3 separate regions of the Homo sapiens genome follow, and regions 1 and 2 are each linked to region 3. Evidence: promoter capture Hi-C in 16 types of primary human blood cells and fetal thymus (Javierre and others, 2016). All regions are on one chromosome and are shown on one strand. The core of a region is centred on a gene start or on the middle of the fragment in contact, and the rest is flanking DNA. Distances in the headings are between cores, read along the strand shown. Region 1 holds the start of SNHG5 (small nucleolar RNA host gene 5). Region 2 holds the start of GOPC (golgi associated PDZ and coiled-coil motif containing). Region 3 holds the start of SHPRH (SNF2 histone linker PHD RING helicase).

The links. The method cuts DNA at HindIII sites, captures the fragments that hold promoters and counts their contacts. A CHiCAGO score of 5 or more calls a contact.
Region 1: the fragment with the promoter of SNHG5 here is called in contact with the fragment with the promoter of SHPRH in region 3 in 1 of 17 cell types (naive B cells); the score reaches 7.7 in naive B cells.
Region 2: a contact is called between the fragment with the promoter of GOPC here and the fragment with the promoter of SHPRH in region 3, in 4 of 17 cell types (total B cells, activated CD4 T cells, total CD4 T cells and 1 more). The highest score is 14.6, in total B cells.

What each region holds. Positions count from the first base shown.
Region 1 is chr6:85,677,455-85,680,452 of GRCh38, reverse strand. SNHG5 (small nucleolar RNA host gene 5) reads left to right here and starts at 1,720. Exons shown (of 6, transcript NR_003038.2): 1 at 1,720-1,759; 2 at 2,265-2,317; 3 at 2,421-2,499; 4 at 2,578-2,658; 5 at 2,961-2,998. SNORD50B (small nucleolar RNA, C/D box 50B) reads left to right here and starts at 2,794; the gene lies at 2,794-2,864. RefSeq lists enhancers at 1,750-1,909, 2,080-2,139. The HindIII fragment of the contact is 13,479 bases long and covers 1-1,877 here.
Region 2 is chr6:117,600,858-117,603,925 of GRCh38, reverse strand. GOPC (golgi associated PDZ and coiled-coil motif containing) reads left to right here and starts at 1,415. Exons shown (of 9, transcript NM_020399.4): 1 at 1,415-1,922. The coding sequence starts at 1,638. It also overlaps the pseudogene NEPNP. RefSeq lists enhancers at 1,024-1,313, 1,444-1,533. The HindIII fragment of the contact is 3,398 bases long and covers 1-1,769 here.
Region 3 is chr6:145,963,096-145,965,826 of GRCh38, reverse strand. It overlaps SHPRH (SNF2 histone linker PHD RING helicase), which reads left to right and starts at 1,469. Exons shown (of 30, transcript NM_001042683.3): 1 at 1,469-2,096. RefSeq lists enhancers at 993-1,042, 594-1,581, 1,493-1,712, 1,823-1,952. The HindIII fragment of the contact is 1,513 bases long and covers 870-2,382 here.

The DNA.
Region 1 (2,998 bases), core at 471-2,970, about 60 Mb after region 3:
ACAAGACGGACAAACAAGTTGCAGAACATATAGATCCCATTTGTATGTGAAAAACGAAGTACATATATTTGCATTTGCATAGGAAGTCTCAAAAACTGTTAACAGTGGTATTGCTGAAGAGTACAACTAGGGAGAAGATTCCCAGGCATGTGGAAAGATACTTTCACTTTGCTTTTTTTGTTAACTCTTTTTAAAAATTTTTTTAATACAATAGAGACAGGGTCTTGGGCTCAATCCTCCCACCTCAGCCTCCAAAAGTGCTCTAATTACAGACATAAGCCACCACACCCGGCCTACTTTGCTTCTTATATCCTTTTGTACTGTATTGTTTGTTTTACTATTTACTATGAGCAATATGCAAATTTATGTAAGACATTACAAAGTAATACAAAAACCGACAAAATGCCCGGCCCAGTCAATACTTCATCATATAGGTTCCTGTTAGAGAAAAGTGCTTTTCACTACTATCTTTGAATGTGAAGTTTGATCTTCATTCTAATTTTCTAAAAAGCCACCGAATGTATTTGTTCATTCATTCATTCATTTAACCATTACCGACAACCTACTTAATGCTAGGCACTGTTCTAAGAAAAAATAAACAGCAGAGCACGAAATCAGATGTGTTGCTCCCACACTCTAGCAGAATCGGACCGTAATCAAATGCACACATAAACAACTTTAATAAGTAGTGCTTTGAAATATAGAAGTGAAGAACGACCTGAATTTTCAAATACTGAAATGTTCAAATGTCGTGTGCACACACACACACGCAGACATATTCACTCGAACATGCTAATTAATCAAAGCACTGCTTTTGAATTTTGTGTTTGTCGTCTGGATAAAGTATTCAGGGATACTTCTCAAATTAATCTTTCTCTCGTTTTCAATATAACTAATTGAGTACAAAGAAGTTAAAAATTAGCAAAGCATTTCAGCTGTGTGACCTTAGGCAAATTACCTGGCTGTTTTAAGCCTCAGTTTTCTCCTCTGCGAAATGGAGTATTGAACCTCACGTTCGCTGTTTGAGGGAGACTTGTATGGTCACGTTTAGTGTAACCGGATGCCTGGCACGAGGAAGCGTGAGGAGGAATGGATCCCCATGGGGCCTTGATGCCCGCCCTGAGGCCCTGCAGGGCCGCACGCCGGGGCTGTTCTCACGTGGCGCTTTCCGCTTTTTCACCCAAGCGTTTCTGCCAGCCAACTGCCCTTTCCCGGAGTGCTGCGGCCAGGGCTCGCCCGCTCCTCCGGCGGCCTCCGCTGGGGGCCCACTACAGCCCAGCGCCAGCCAGCCAGCCAGCCCAGCTTCTCGAATCGGTCCTAAGCTGAGGCCGCCCTGCGCTGCAAAACTTGTGTCCACTCTCGGACCCAATCTGTCCTGGACGGACTTGGCTCGTGGCAGGCGAAAGCGTCGTTTCCAACTGCAGCTGTTTGAATTCTGGCGCCACACCCGCGCCACGTAGGGCCAAGTCGGCCGCCAGACTCGTAAGAGACGCTTCGCAGTGCGCCTGCGGGCGCGCGCCGGGAAATGGCCGGGCGCGCGGCCGGCCTGCGGCGCGCTCCACAACGCGGAACGGGCCTCAGAAGAGCCACCGCGCGCGCTCCCGCTAATTCGCGACCACACCCCTGTCTACTTCCATGTCCAATAGGTGCGAGAGGGCGGGACGGCCTCGTTCTGACTCCGGGAGGCTATATAAGGAGCTACTGGCTGCGCACTTCGGTCTTTTACGTCGGCCTTCGCGAGCGTCTGGGCGGGTGGTAGGTGAGTGGGTATTGCGGGCTAGTATCCGAGCAAAAGATGGTGGCGCAGGCCGAGTTAAGAGCTTTAATCCTGTGAAGACATCTTAGTGAAGAGTTTAGAGTGCTGAGAGTTGAAAGCTTGCACGTGGGAAACGTGCGGCCGGACTGCCACATGTACTGAGGTTGAGTCGTGACGGCCACAGGCTCCGAGTTTTGGCGTGAGGAACCGCTGATCGGCCACGGGCGCCGAACTTGCTGGCCTCCGGCATGTGCCTGAGCGGCGGCGGAAAAACCACCTTAATTGGGGCGGAGGGTTAGTTTTAACAGCAAAGGGCCTTTACTAAAATGGCGAAGGCCTTCCGTCGGCGTTGTTTTAAAATGGGAAGCCTCGACCCTGTATTGAAACTGAGCTGTTCGAAGGCGGCGTTGTGTGCAATTCGGATTAATGAAGGGGAAGGGTTTTGTGTGGAAAAACGCCTTGGAGTGTGACATTTCTGCGAGAATGCTTAAATACCGATTTCCCGCAGGAACAATGGCGCTGTCTTCAGTGGCACAGTGGAGCAGCTCTGAAGATGCAAAGGTAAGAGCTTAGTTAAGCTTAGTTTCCAAACTAAAGGAGTAAACCTGTTGATTTACAGGAATAGGAACTGTTGCATCGTTTGAAATTTACTTTTTTTTGTTAGATACACGAAAAAACTTCCAGAACATCTGGGAGAATATTTAATGGAAAATCGCTTGGTTAAAACCTGACACTTTTAACAGGTATGTGTTGTTTTAGTACTTTATGATTGAGCATAGCATTTAATCCACACCTAGACTAAATCAAATTTTTTTTGTCAGTGAACAGCGTTCTGAGTGTGGACGAGTAGCCAGTGAAGATAATGAATGTCGAATGTGACTGACTAGCAGCTTCATTTTGAAGTAGGTTGTATGGCTTAAAAGTTCTGTAGTATTTGTACTATAATACTTGCCTTTTAGCATTACCTTGGTTTGTAGTCAGTGTCACAGAAGTGCAGTTTAATGTATTATGTGTACATATACAAGGTCTGATTGGTCTAATCAATGATGAAACCTATCCCGAAGCTGATAACCTGAAGAAAAATAAGTACGGATTCGGCTTCTGAGATTAAGACCAGTAATTCAGAGGTGGAGTAAATTTTGTTGCCGTGATTTTATAACAGTTGTGTTATAAAATCCTGGGTTTTTTTTTTTTCTGCCAACAGTGAGGGTCGCTGTCTGCCCATTGATAGAGGCCAGATTG
Region 2 (3,068 bases), core at 166-2,665, about 28 Mb after region 3:
AGTTTCCACCAGCCTACTCTAATCACACAGGTTTCTCTTTCCCTTTCTAGGACTGTCTACCCTTGAACTGGAAGTAGGCAGAATGTAAAGAGAGGAGTTGCTGGATACTTTTAAAGGCACTGAAAAATTCAAGTTAAAGTTATAGTTGAGGGGTAGTAGCCTCACTAGCCTATCTTGAGTAAGGGTCATGTCTCATTCATTTTTGTGTCTTCAATGTCGCAACAGAGCTCTGCATTCAATATATTTGTAAATATATGAATTCACAATTTTGATTTTCTGAAATGTCACGTGTGAGGACACTACCAGTTTTCAAATAAATACACCTTTTAAAGTACAGTTATGTGCCAAATAACAAGGCTTCAGCAATGAATGGATCGCATAAACTATGGTGATCCTATAAGAGTATATGACTGTACCTTTTCTATGTTTAGATATGTTTAAGTACACAAATAGTTACCACTGTGTTATAATCGCCTACCGTATCCAGAATGGCAACATGCTGTACAGGTTTACAGCCTAAGAGCAATAGGCTACATCATATAGCCTGGGTGTGTAGTAGGCTATACTATCTAGGTTTGTGTTTAAATACACTCTAGGATGTTCCCTAAGGGATGATTAACCTAAGGACACATTCCTAAGAACATATCCCCATCTTAAGTGAAGCACTACTGTAGTTGCTTTTGAAATGTGTGACCTATGGTGTATTAAGAGGAATACCGTGTGCCAAGAAGTGACGCTAAGCGTTTTACCTTACAACTGAGTTAAGTAAAATTTGGAAACTTGGTTTCGAGGTTAATACATGAAAGGCGACACAGGTAGTATGTGACAGAGGGTAAGAATTGAATCCAGGTCTACCTGACTCTTAATCACAAGACAAAAAGTCTTCTATTAATTCCGCAAAATCTGGTCAGCCGCTTCAATGCGCAGCTTTAGGCAGTCCACACCTGGAATTTGGGGTCTGGTTTACCAAGAACAGCCAGTGTGTACACCCACTCCATCCTATCCAGGAACTGGAATCGAGAAGGTAAAAACGTGGCTATTGCGCATGCTCACACCGCCCTTCCTTGCTCTCCCCTCCCTGACCCTAGATGCCACCGCAGCAACTTTCTGGGAGGATTTTGGAACGGCTCCCGCCAACTGTTAAGTCAAACCGGCGGAAATCCTTCCTTTCTGCGACGTGGACACCTTTCTCATCCTCGGGCCTTTCCAACCAGGGTGCAGAAACCACGCGCCTCCGTTTCTCAGGGATTCAAGCCGTAGTTTGCCAGTTGTTAATATGGCCGCTGACAGGCCGCTCCCAAGCTGAGGCCTTTCATAGGCCAAGATCGCATCCTGTCCCCGCCTATTTTGTCCCTCGTGGCTGCGTCCGCCCAGCTCTTCGCTACGCATGCGCAGCGGGGGCAGGCTGGGAGGTGGGACTGACTGAGTCTTCCGTGTGTCGCCGCCGTTGCCGCCTCAGCTTCAGCCTCGTTACTCCTGCGGTTCTGTGACTGTGCTGCTGGCGTTAACGGCGCGAGGTGAAGGGAGGTGACGGAGTGTGCCCGCGCGCGCGGGGGTCCCCTCAGTCCCAGCAGTTCCCTTCGTGCGCGGGGGGCGGCGAGGGTCTTCAGCAGTCGGGAGAGGCCCTTGACGGCGCCATGTCGGCGGGCGGTCCATGCCCAGCAGCAGCCGGAGGGGGCCCAGGGGGCGCCTCCTGCTCCGTGGGGGCCCCTGGCGGGGTATCCATGTTCCGGTGGCTGGAGGTGCTGGAGAAGGAGTTCGACAAAGCTTTTGTGGATGTGGATCTGCTCCTGGGAGAGATCGATCCAGACCAAGCGGACATCACTTATGAGGGGCGACAGAAGATGACCAGCCTGAGCTCCTGCTTTGCACAGCTTTGCCACAAAGCCCAGTCTGTGTCTCAAATCAACCACAAGCTGGAGGTGAGCCGTGGGTGCTGGCGGCTATGGCATCCAACCCCAGGCTGCCCGGTGGCGTCAGATGCCATTTAACGCTCCAGTGAAACGACCCTAGAAAACTGCCCACCGGGGCTTCAAATGTGATGGGAGAGTGCATGTCTGAGGAGTGAGGTGAGGGTGGGGGACAAAAAGGGCCCTAGACCGACGTGTGAGTTCCCGGGGTACTGTCGTCCACCTTCCTAGTATCTCTCTGAGGAGGAAACTAATTACATACACCAGCCTCCATTGCACATGTTACATTAACAAACCTAACAAAGATTCTCTGTCATGAAAATACCGTAGGCCACCTTTTGACAACTGAGTTTTGCAGATCTGCTTTCACATTGATAAACCGAATTTGTATATGTTAAGACAGATACAGCACTGATTATTTTCATTTTAATTATTCCAGGTCAGCGCCTATGATTGCATACAGAGACATGCATAAACTATTTAGGGGAATCTGATCAAAGCTCTTAGGAAAATTTCGTGGTGCATAACGATAGTATCACTGTCTCGGTTTACATCCATAGTTGGTTGTTAAATTACAGGCAGATACCTCCAGAGAGCTCCCTGCAATTATTGAAATTACTTCTGACCTTGAGTTTTTATATGCTTGTACATTACTGTGTAATTTTCCAAAGTCTGGATTTATTTTTGAGAGAGTGTAAAGAATCATTTGCTTTAATCTCTGATCCTGGGTGTGGGTGAGGGTGGAGTGGCTGTGGTTCAAAAAAACAAAAATATCATATTGTGCAGAAAATTTAAAAAGGACATTATTAAAATATTTAGAAATCAAGATAGATTAACATTATTGCATAAAGAGTACTTTCTAACTAGGCAATTTAAGAGAATGGGTCTTTCTTTTCAAAAAGTGTAATAGATAAAAATGGGATAATCAGTGATGTGCAAAACTCTGAACATGCTTTCCTAAGAAATCATCATTACTCGTTGTCATTGACAGTGCCCATTATATCTATATCAATATGAATGTCAGTTAAACATCCTCTCCTTGCCTAGTGGTCAGCATTCTTTCTCTCCTATTAGCCATGAAATATGTGGCATAATTAATCTTTGATTAACATAGATTTACATATCCAAGAATTGTGGCTCTTCTCCACTGCGAGAACT
Region 3 (2,731 bases), core at 220-2,719:
TTTTGACATGGCTTCCTCACTAAATTCCTTCGGTTTTCGATTTAAAGTGAGAGATGTGCCACCCTTCCTTTTACTTGAACACTTAATAGTCCATTGTAGGGTTATTAATTGGCCTAATTTCAATATTGTTGTGTCTCAAAGAATAGGGAGGCCTGAAGAGAGGAAGAGAGACAGGCGCCAATAGTGAAGCTTTCAGAACACACACAACATTTATTAAGTTTAGCATCTTCTATGAGCAGAGTTTGTAATGCTCCCAAAAAACTACAATAGTAACATCAAAGATAACTAATCATAGATCACCATAACAGATGAACAGCAAGTGAACACATGCTGCTTGAAAAATGATGCTGACAGACTTGCTTGAGTAAGGTTGCCAAAAAACTTCAATTTATAGGAAAACATATTATCTGCAAAGTACAATAAAGGGAAGCAAAATAAAAGGAGGCGGGGATTTGCTTATGGAAACAGCTTCGTATCTGTGATAAAGGAATATACTAAGTAAAATATGGACTACCCTGGACTGTCTAACACAACTACAACCGATATTCACTTGGACAAGAACTTAGTTCAAGTGCTTCTGTGGTCACACAACCCAAAAGGCCTCCACAGCAGAAAAGCTGCTATTAGGTACTCACTAACTAAGTACTGAGTCCCCAGTGTTTCCTGAGGGTTATTTCACAGGCTCCTGACCCTGAAGCCTCTCAGAGTTATTCCAACATTAAGGTCACTTCTATGAGGAAGAGGTGAGAGGAAAAAAGACCAATAGTGGAAGGCCAGCTTCAGCGCAACACATGTATTTAATAGTTTCTCTCATCTTTGAATATTTATTCACATTTCCCTTTAAAGTCTGTTTTTGAGGGGGAGAAGCTTTATTCGTACCTACTTAGTGGCTGCTTTATAGCAGTAAAATAGATGCTTTTGCAGAATTCTTTTCTGCTTTTCTTTTGTGAGACGGAGTCTCATTCTATCACCCAGTGGGGAGATGTCGGCTTACTCAATCTCTGCCTCGCAGGTTCAAGCATTCTCCTGCTTCAGCCTCCCGAGCAGCTGGGACTACAGGCGGGTACTACAGGCGCGCACCACAACGCCCGGCTAATTTTTGTATTTTTAGTAGAGACGGGGTTTCGCTATCTTGGCCAGGCTGTTCTCCAACTCCTGACCTCAGGAAATCCGCCCGCCTCGGCCTCCCAAAGTGGTGGGATTACAGGCGTGAGCCACCGCTCCTGGCCCCTGCCTTTTTATTAGAGATACAAATCACACACGCCCTTCGCTTCAAGGGGAGCCCCGCCCCCTACTTCGGGCATTCGGCCATCCTGTGTTCTCTAATGGCGTGGGGCAGAGCTATCGCGAGACTCCACTGTATCCTCAGCAAGTTTTTAACAGTGTGAACTTGCGCAGAAGAGACTCATGAAGCCAGCGCAGGAGAAAGGGGGCGGGGTGCTCTGACGAGCGCGTTCGCCTTGACCCCACGCTACAGCGCGCGCCCGGCAGCTAGGCGCTGTGGTTTCTGGGTCTCCCGGGGGACCCCTACACGTTCCGGCAAAAAGCGCTCGTGCCCACCTCAAGCCCATGTTCGGTGGGTGGCGAATGCGTGCCCGTGATCTGCTGGGTCTGTAGAGGAGCGCAGGCCTGGTGCAAACAGACTCAAGAGGCTCGGAGAACCAGCTTGGGTAGGCGCTTGGGTGATGGAAGGTCAGGGGTCAGAGGTCGGGAGGGAGGGAGGGAGGTGGTCTTTGGCCTCCGGGACCAGGGAGGGAGGACGCTGGTTGTCCTGGAGCCCGGGAAGCTCAAGGGCTGAGAGGGAGCCGCTGCGCGAGTCTTCCCCACCTCTTCCCGATCCCGGACTAGCGAACTTCGGACCACCACGTCCCTCCGGGGATAAAGTGGGGTCGTGGGAAAGGAGGCTGTGCTTCTCCTCATGCACTGGGGCCTGCGGTGTTTGTCTCGAGCGTCCAACACACTAGGATCCGGGAGTCCGTCGTCACGCTCCTTGGCCTCGCGGTCGCTTGTTTGCTCGGCCTGCTGGGAGCGATCCGGCGCTGACAGCCCCGCTCAGACTCCGGGAGCCGCTTGTGGGTCTTTCGGAAGATAACTGAGTGGGTACCGTGCGCCGCAGATCTACCCCCGGAGGCTGGAACTGGGTCGCCGCCTCCCTTCTTTGTGCGCGGCATTGTATTAGTAAAAGGGGAGGCAGAGGTTTCTCAGTCCCACTCAAAGTTCTCCGTTACCTTTGGAGCCAGATTAATTACATTCGAATTCAGAACCACTCTTTGACATTGTACAGTTTGACTGGTAGTTGCTATGTTTATGAACGAAGATAGGGTGTTATTTGATGATTAATAGTCACTGTATAATGATCAGTTAAATAATGACCAGGAAGCTTGTGCCCTTTTTCCAAGTAGTTTGACATTAGCACGAGGTAGAAATCCGAGATGTTTGATGCCTTCCAACTTGTACTTAAGGAACTTAAGGAACTTGGGGCTTTTTCTGAACAAAATAAGATAAAGTTATTACTGTTACTTTAAATTATTCCAGTGGGCATTAGTAGGAATGATGAAACTCTTGAATAGAAACGATCCATGATATCTCTACTGTCACAAAAAAGACTATTTAGTTTATGATTAGTAAACATGCTGGAGACAGAGCAGTCCTGAGCAGTATTGTAATGATTATGTCTGTGCTCGATAACCTGCACTTTCTAGAGCTTTAAAGGACCAGTTAACCAGTAAGC